Linked DNA regions of Homo sapiens: region 2 is linked to region 1. The links are contacts of gene promoters, found by promoter capture Hi-C in human tissues and cell types (Jung and others, 2019). All regions are on one chromosome and are shown on one strand. Each heading gives the region's core, a stretch centred on a gene start or on the middle of the fragment in contact. The rest is flanking DNA. Distances are from core to core; before and after follow the strand shown. Region 1 holds the start of TUBD1 (tubulin delta 1). Region 2 overlaps LOC105371850 (a long non-coding RNA gene).

The links. The method cuts DNA at HindIII sites, captures the fragments that hold promoters and counts their contacts. A contact is called where the count stands out against the background at its distance.
Region 2: a contact is called between a fragment that was not itself captured here and the fragment with the promoter of TUBD1 in region 1, in 1 of the 25 tissues and cell types used here (dorsolateral prefrontal cortex).

Annotation. Positions count from the first base shown.
Region 1 is chr17:59,890,388-59,894,384 of GRCh38, reverse strand. TUBD1 (tubulin delta 1) reads left to right here and starts at 1,442. Exons shown (of 9, transcript NM_016261.4): 1 at 1,442-1,688; 2 at 3,344-3,554. The coding sequence starts at 3,383. It overlaps RPS6KB1 (ribosomal protein S6 kinase B1), which reads right to left and starts at 1,264. Exons shown (of 15, transcript NM_003161.4): 1 at 1,060-1,264. The coding sequence starts at 1,200. RefSeq lists a silencer at 847-1,046 and an enhancer at 1,237-1,516. The HindIII fragment of the contact is 25,982 bases long and covers 1-3,997 here.
Region 2 is chr17:60,405,102-60,409,369 of GRCh38, reverse strand. All of the region lies in intron 2 of LOC105371850 (a long non-coding RNA gene), which reads left to right. It also overlaps a transcript of USP32 not described here. Among named protein-coding and RNA genes, the nearest start is that of USP32, 15 kb to the right of the region's middle. The HindIII fragment of the contact is 3,269 bases long and covers 841-4,109 here.

The DNA of each region.
Region 1 (3,997 bases), core at 193-2,692:
CCAAGAGGTTATCAACTGATGATCATTTGGTCCAGGATCAGTGATTTAGTATGACAACATTTTTGAACTTCAGGTGCAATTTGTCATTTTTTGATAAATTTATCTAGGGAAAAAAAAAGTTATTCCATAAAGATTAACAAACCACTAAGCCAGCAGGGTGAAACCAAGCTATGCATTAGGAAATACAATTCTAAATTTAGCACCCTAAATTACAGCAAGGAAAGCCCTCATACCACCATTCACAAGTCTCTGTTCAGGCAACTTATTTCTGGCAAGCTAAATCAAGGCTGTCAACTGGTTTTTGGTTTTTTTTTCCACCTCAAAATTACATTAATTATTCTGAAAAAAATACAGACATCTTCAACTTGGGGAAAGGTTACAAGTGCCGTGTGTCCTTATAAATGCTTATTTTAAAAAGTCACACGGAAGGGGGTAAAAAAAAAAAAGCAAACAAACAAACCCTGGAAGATTGGAAGATGCAGCAGAGCCCCCTTGCTCCCGAAATAAAACTCCTGGTGGCTGTAACAGCAGCGGCAGTGCTACTCCCGACAGAAGTTTTCAGCTGTCACTTCTAACAGCTGAGCGCTTCCTAGGAGAGAAGCGACAGGCCGAGAAGAGAGGTGGTTGTGGGAGGTCTGAAGATTCAATACTTGAAATTCTAGACTCGAAGGGAAACCCTCCACACTTCGCCTGCACTTACGGGACACCCAGCAAGAGCAGCCCCCGTCTCCCCAACACACGCTCACGCCACCCGCTCCCCGCCACACTCAAGTCCAACAGCTCGAGGAATCGACCACGCGCCCGTTCTCTTTCCCTCTTCAGATCGCTCGGGGCTGCGCTGACCTGGGGCTAAGGGTGCGACCTGCACCTGCGAGCCCCGCAGAGGCCTCACACCTAGGGCCATGACCGCCCCGCCCGCTCCCCTGTCTCAGGCCGCGCGACCCTCAGCTCCTCAGGAGCCCCCCTGGGTCTCCACGCTCTAGGACACACCGCGCTTCCTGAGCCCGCGCCGCCGCCCCGGCCCTGTCACCTCGGGCCCCCGGGGACCCCGGGCCTCACCCCCTCCTCCAGCTCATCCTCAGAGCCCGCGTCCTCTGGCTGGTCCAGGTCTATGTCAAACACTCCTGCCATGTCCTCAGCTTCCCTGTCTCGGAAGTCCGGGGCTGGGTAAAAGCCGTCCCGCCTCCTTCGTCGCCTCATGGGCCCGGACCCGCCGCAGCCACCACAGCCGCTGCCGCCATCACCGGCTGCTTAGGCTCAGTGCGTCTGCGCCTAGGCCTTAGACTGGCTCCTAAAGTTCAGCGTAGGAGCATGCGTACAGGGTTCCGTGAAGCCAAACAGTGGGCAGTGGACATGCGCAGAACTATCGGCAGGATCCAGGCGCTGGCAGAAACATGCGCAAAACACCAGCCGAAGTCGCGCTTGGAGGACTAGAGCATGCGCATTGTCAGCTGGAGCGTTCGGTGGACAGTGAGCATGCGTACCATATCTGAAGTTCGTAAATTGAAATTGAACATGCGTAATTAATCTTTCTGAATAGGAAAAAATATATACACAACAAAACTCTCCGTTTATGGAACATGCGCATTTGTTCTCAGTAAGTTTTTCGTTTTGAAAGTGAGCATGCGCATGGTGAGTAGGTTGGTCCGAAGTTTGAACCGGACAGAAGCGCTGGTCGGCGTCTGGCGGTGAGTCGGGTTACGTGTGGAGAACTCCTGGGGCCCGTGGGGAACGGGGGACCTTTTGGCTTTGCTCTTTACTAGTTCTGTGGCCTTGGAAAAGTCAATAACCTTTCAGAGCCTCAGTTTCCTTATCTGTAAAATGAGGATAATAATAAACCTACTTTGCCGGTTTGACATTTTAAGCACAGAGTCTGTCTCACAACCCACGGCTCATTTCCAGTGCTGCATAGACCTGATGTGAAGTCTTTATCAAAACTTGTCTTTTCCTAGGTAAAAATAATGAGGAACTGCTCTAATGTTTCTTTTGCTTTCTTTCTTTTTCAAATGGAGACAGGGTCTCGCTGTGTTGCCCAGGCTGGTCTGGAATCCCTGGGCTCAGGTGATCCTCCCGCCTCGGCCTCCCAAAGTACTGGGATTACAGGCATGAGCCATTGCGCCCGGTTAATATTTCATCTGGTTTTCTTTCTCCAAGCTGCATCTTTCTTGCTGTCCTACCTGAGCTAAACACAAAATCTTTCTTACAGGTCTTACTAAAGTTACCAGGCTAGACTAGTGGAGAAAGCGTAAGCTATTATTTAGAAGAGAGAAAATTAATGTTAATTGAATGTACAATGTTGAGCACACTTCTGTGTTCTACATGTTCATGTGGTGTGAAGGGTGGTACTACTAATTTCTTCAATCAGCATTTGTTTTGTCTTGTTTTTATTTTTTTAATTTTAATTTTTTTTTTTTCTGGAGACAGGAGGATGTCACTTTGTCACCCAGGCTGGAGTGCGGTGGCAAGATCTTGGCTCACTGCAGCCTGGACCTCCCAGGCTCAGGGGATCCTCCCACCTCAGCCTCCCGAGTAGCTGGGACTGCAGGCGCACACCACCACGCCAAGCTAATGGTTGTATTTTTTGTACAAACAGGGTTTTGCCATGTTGACCAGGTCTGGAACAGCCAGGCTCACGTGATTCTCCCAACTCAGCCTCCCAAAATGCTGGGATTACAGGTGTGAGCCACGCACCCAGCCTCTTTTTTTCTTTTATCACTCCTCAACTGAGGAGAATGTTTTGTTTTAAACATATGTTTAGGAAAAAAGTGATTACAAATCAGATTTTGGAAACTATTGAGCTGTGTATGAATGGATTCAGGTACAGTAAATCACAAATCCCAAAACCATGTAGAGAGTATGAGAACTTCCTTGAATGACTAGCTCCTTAGACAACACAGCTGTTCTATCTCCAATATTATATACGTATGTGGCATTTTAAAATGACTTTTTGGGCCGGGCGTGGTGGCTCAAGCCTGTAATCCCAGCACTTTGGGAGGCTGAGGTAGGTGGAGGTGGATCACGAGGTCAAGAGTTCAAGACCAACCTGGCCAACATGGTGAAACCCCATCTCTACTAAGAATACAAAAATTAGCCAGGCGTGGTGGCACGTGCCTGTAATCCCAGCTACTCGGGAGGCTGAGGCAGGAGAATCGCTTGAACCTGGGAGGCGGAGGTTGCATTAAGCCGAGAACATGCCACTGCACTCTAGCCTGGGTGACAGAACAAGACTCCGTCTCAGGGGGGAAAAAAGACTTTTTATTGATGTATAATTAACATACATGGCATTTTATTTGTTCTTATTAGTAATGTAGTGGTTCTCAAAGCGTATTTTTTTCGATTACAGGTTGTTTTTAGAGGTAATACACCTAGTTTGTGGCTCAGCATGTCAATTGTAACAGTGCAACTTGGTCAGTGTGGCAATCAGATTGGTTTTGAAGTTTTTGATGCTTTGCTTAGTGACTCACACAGTTCCCAGGGACTCTGCTCTATGAGAGAGAATGAGGCATATCAAGCATCTTGCAAAGAAAGATTCTTCAGTGAGGAGGAGAATGGAGGTAGGTGTGGCCCACAGTCCTCTCCTTTACTCTGATCTAACCAACCCCTTCAAAGCCAGGCCTTCCACATGGTTTTTAAACCCCATTCCTTCCCATCTCACTAGGGAATTACTTTGTTTTTGCTTTTCATTTCTATGTTAATAATCTTTGCTTTTCCAGTGGCATTTTCCCTTCTGCATGCTCAGATCTCACCAATTTAAAACCAACCAAACAAAACTCATCTATTGACTGGCTTTCTTCTTCTTATCTCTTTGCCTTTCATCTAAGATTCTCAAAAGAGGACCCTGCTGGCTGGGCGTGGTGGCTCACGCCTGTAATCCCAGCACTTTGAGAGGCCGAGGCGAGTGGATCACAAGGTCAGGAGTTCAAGACCAGCCTGACCAACATGGTGAAACCCCATCTCTACTAAAAATACAAAAATTAGCTGGGCGTGGTGGCATGTG
Region 2 (4,268 bases), core at 1,226-3,725, 510 kb before region 1:
GAAAAGTTTTGTTTTTGTTTTTGAGACGGAGTCTCGCTCTGTTGCATAGGCTGGAATGCTGTGGCATGATTTCGGCTCACTGCAACCTCCGCCTCCTAGGTTCAAGTGATCCTCCTGCCTCAGCCCCTCTAGCAGCGGGGATTACAGGCATGTGCCACCATGCCCAGCTAATTTTTGTATTTTTAGTAGAGACAGGGTTTCGCCATGTTGCTCAGGGTGGTCTTGAAGTCCTGGCCTCAGGTGATCCGTGCACCTCGGCCTCCCAAAGTGCTGGGATTACAGGCATGAGCCACTGTGCCCGGCTGAGAAAAGTTTTACTGTGAGTCAGCTGGCAAGGAAATAGGAGGAAATGCTCAGCTGTGTCTCCCCAAGCTGGGGTCTGGGTCATGTTTTATAAGCATAGGGTAGCAAGGTATTATCTGATTGGATCTTGCAATGAGGTGATGCCAGAAGGCATGATCTGACTGGATCCTGGCATGGGGTGATGTCAGAGTTTGATCTGATTGGATCCTGGATCAAACTATGTGGTGTCCACTTAGTTCCGTCTCTGCTCCTTGGTCTGAGCACTTAGATTCCCCCTATCGTTGCATGCTTGCTTCATCTGGGCATGCTCAGGTTACATAACCTTCAACCTGGGGAATCCATAGCAACTGAAAACTCACAACTTTGTTATATAAAAGTTGAGCCAGATTGGCCGGGCATGGTGGCTCATGCCTGTAATCCCAGCACTTTGGGAGGGTGAGGTGGGCAGATCATTTGAGGTCAGGAGTTGAAGACCAGCCTGGCCAACATGGTGAAACCCCATCTCTACTAAAAATACAAAAATTAGCTGGGCATGGTGGCATGCACCTATAATCCCAGCTACTTGGGAGGCGGAGGCAGGAAAATCGATTGAACCCGGGAGGCAGAGCTTGCAGTGAGCCAAGATCGTGCCACTGCACTCCAGCCTGGGGGACAGAGCGAGACTCTGTCTCAAAAAAAAAAGTTGAGCCAGATTGATACGATGTGGTTACAAGTTCAGATACTGTATTTTTCACCACTAGAAGTTCCATCTGGTTCTTTTTTCTTCTTTCCTCATTATATTCATGTTTTTCTTTAAATATAGTTATAATAGCTGTTTCATCATTCTTATCTGCTAATTCCATAATTTCTGTCATTTCTGGGTCCATGTCTGTCACCTGATTTTTCCCCCCTGCTTCTTGGTATAAATAGTAATTTTTTATTGGATCTCAGGATGTCACATTGTTTTTCTTTTTCTTTCTTTTTCTTTTTGAGATGGAGTCTCGCTCTGTACCCCAGGCTGGAGTGCAGTGGCGACATCTCAGCTCACTGCAATCTCCACCTCCCAGGTTCAAGCAATTATCCTGCCTTAGCCTTCCCAGTAGCTGGGACTATAGGCGCTCACCCCCACGCCCAGCTGATTTTTATATTTTTAGTAGAGACGAGGTTTCACCATGTTGGCCAGGCTGGTCTCGAACTCCTGACCTCAGGCAATCCGCCTGCCTTGGCCTCCCAAAGTGCTGGAATTACATGCGTGAGCCACTGCACCCGGCCTGTTTCTGCTTTTTTTTTTTTTTTTTTTTTTTTTGAGACAGAGGCTTGCTCTGTCGCCCAGGCTGGAGCACAGTGGCTTAATCTCGGCTCACTGTAACCTCCGCCTCCTGGGTTCAAGCAATTCTTCTGCCTCAGCCTCCTGAGTAGCTGGGATTACAGGCATGGACCACCACACCTGGCTAATGTGGATGTCACATTGTTGAATGTCTGTATTTTGTAGTCTTCCCTTAAAGAGTATAGGTCTTTGTTGTACCAGATTGTTAACTTACTTTTGGATTAGTTTGATGTTTTTGAGGCTAGTTTTTAAGCTTCATTAAGCAGTTCTAGCGTGTACTTTACTCTAGACCTAGTTTAGACCTTTTAGTAAGGTTTACCTCTGCTGCAGTCTCTCCTGAACATCTTGGGAGGTCACTAAGTTATTTCTACTCCAATTGGTCATAATTTGTATGTTTCCTAGCTCTGGGAATTGTTCAGTTACATCTCTTCAATTGTTCTTTGCTCAGTCTCCTGGAACTTAGCTCTACTTATGGCTACCTTAATATTCAGAAAAAACTCAAGATCCTATGCAAATTTCTGAAGGTTTTTGCATACCTTCTTCCTTTTTGGAATTTTGCACAGCAACTTCCACAGCTGCCTCAGGTTCCATGAACTCCAATCTGTGCGTCCTCAGTGAGATTGCCACATTCTGATTTTATGATCCAGATTGCACCCCTAGGCAAAAAGCTAGGAAAATCACAGAATTTACCTCATTTGTTTTCTTTATCTCAATGACGTCAGTTCTGCACTGCCAATTGTCCAACATCTGAAAACGGTTGTTCTGTATGTTTTGTCTAGCTTCCTAGGTGTGTATGGCAGAAGGGTTAATCTGGTCCCTTTTAACTCCATCATGATCAGAAACAAAAGTCCTCTGTTTCACTGAAATTTGATTAGCATGTCAGTCTTTGAGCAACTGATCAACCTTACAAAATGGAGTTTGAAAAAAGAAAGAAAGAAAGAAAGAAAGGCCAGGCGCAGTGGCTCATGTCTGTAATCCCAGTACTTTGGGAGGCTGAGGCAGGTGGATCACGAGGTCAGGAGTTTAAGACCAGCTTGATCAACATGGTGAAACCCTGTCTCTACTAAAAATACAAAAATTAGCTGGGCGTGGTGGCGCGTGCCTGTAATCACAGCTACTCAGGAGGCTGAGGCAGGAGAATCGCTTGAACCTGGGAGGTGGAGATTACAGTGAGCCGAGGTCATGCCATTGCACTCCAGCCTGGGTGACAGAGCAAGTCTCTGTCTCAAAAAAGAGAAAAAAAAGCAAAAGAAGAACTTCAATGTAGAATTTCAGAATAATGGGCCAGGTGCAGTGGCACACGCCTGTGATCCCAGCACTTTAGGAGGCTGAGGAGGGTGGATCACTTGAGGCCAGGAGTTTGAGACCAGCTTGAGCAACATGGCAAAACCCTTTCTCTACTAAACATACAACAATTAGCTGGGCATGGTGGCATGGGCCTGTAGTCCCAGCTATTTGGGAGGCTGAGGCAGGAGAATCGCTTGAACCCAGGAGGCGGAGGTTGCAGTGAGCTGAGATGGTCCCTGGATGACAAGAACAAGACTGTCTCCAAAAAAAAATTTTTTTTTTCAGAATAATAAGCTTTTTTTTTTTTTTTTTTTTTTGAGACAAGGTCTTGCACTGTCACCCAGGCTGGGGTACAGTGGTATGATCACGGCTCTCTGCAGCCTTGACCTCCTGGACTCAAGTGATCCTCCCAACTCAGCCTCCCAAGTAGCTGAGAATACAGGTGTGCACCAGTACACCTAGCTAAATTTAAAAAAGACATTTTGGAGAGGTGGCGTCTAACTATGTTTCCCAGGCTGGTCTCAACTCTGGGGCTCAAGCAATCCTCCCACACTGGCCTCCCAAAGTGCTGGATTACAGGAGTGAGCTTCTGCACCCAGCCAAATAATAACCTTTGAAAGAATAAAATTCTATGCACGATGGTTACGGATGAATTTATTAAATGGCCCTGAGGTGCCTTTTATTTATTTATTTAATTTTATTTTATGTTTTGAGACAGGATCTCACTCTGTTGCCCAGGCAGGAATGCAGTGGTGTGATCATGATTCACTGCAGCCTCCACCTCCCCAGGCTCAGGTGATCCTCCCACCTTAGCCTCTTGAGCAGCTGGGACTATAGGCAACATGCCACTAGGCCTGGCTAATTTTTGTATTTTTGTAGCGATGGGGTTTTGATATGTTGCCCATGCTGGTCTCGAATTCTTGGGCTCAAGCAATTCAACCGCATGATTTTAAAAATACTAACAGCTTCAGCCAGGCACAGTGGCTCATGCCTGTAATCCTAGCACTTTGGGAGGTTGAGGCGGGTGGACTGTCTGAGCTCAGGAGTTCGAGACCAGCCTGGGCAACACGGTGAAACCCCATCTCTACTACAATACAAAAAAAATTAGGTTGGCTTGGAGGTGTGTGCCTGTAATCCCAGCTACTTGGGAGGCTGAGACAGGAGAGTTGCTTGAACCCAGGAGGTGGAAGCTGTGGTGAGCCGAGATTGAGCCACTGCACTCCAGCCTGGGTGACAGAGCGAAACTCTGTCTCAAAAACAAAAACAAAAACAAAAAACTAACAGCTTCTATTTTTTGTTCTTTTTATTTTTGAAACAGTTTTGCTCTGTCGCCTAGGCTGGAGTGCAGTGGCATGATCGTGGGTCACTGCAG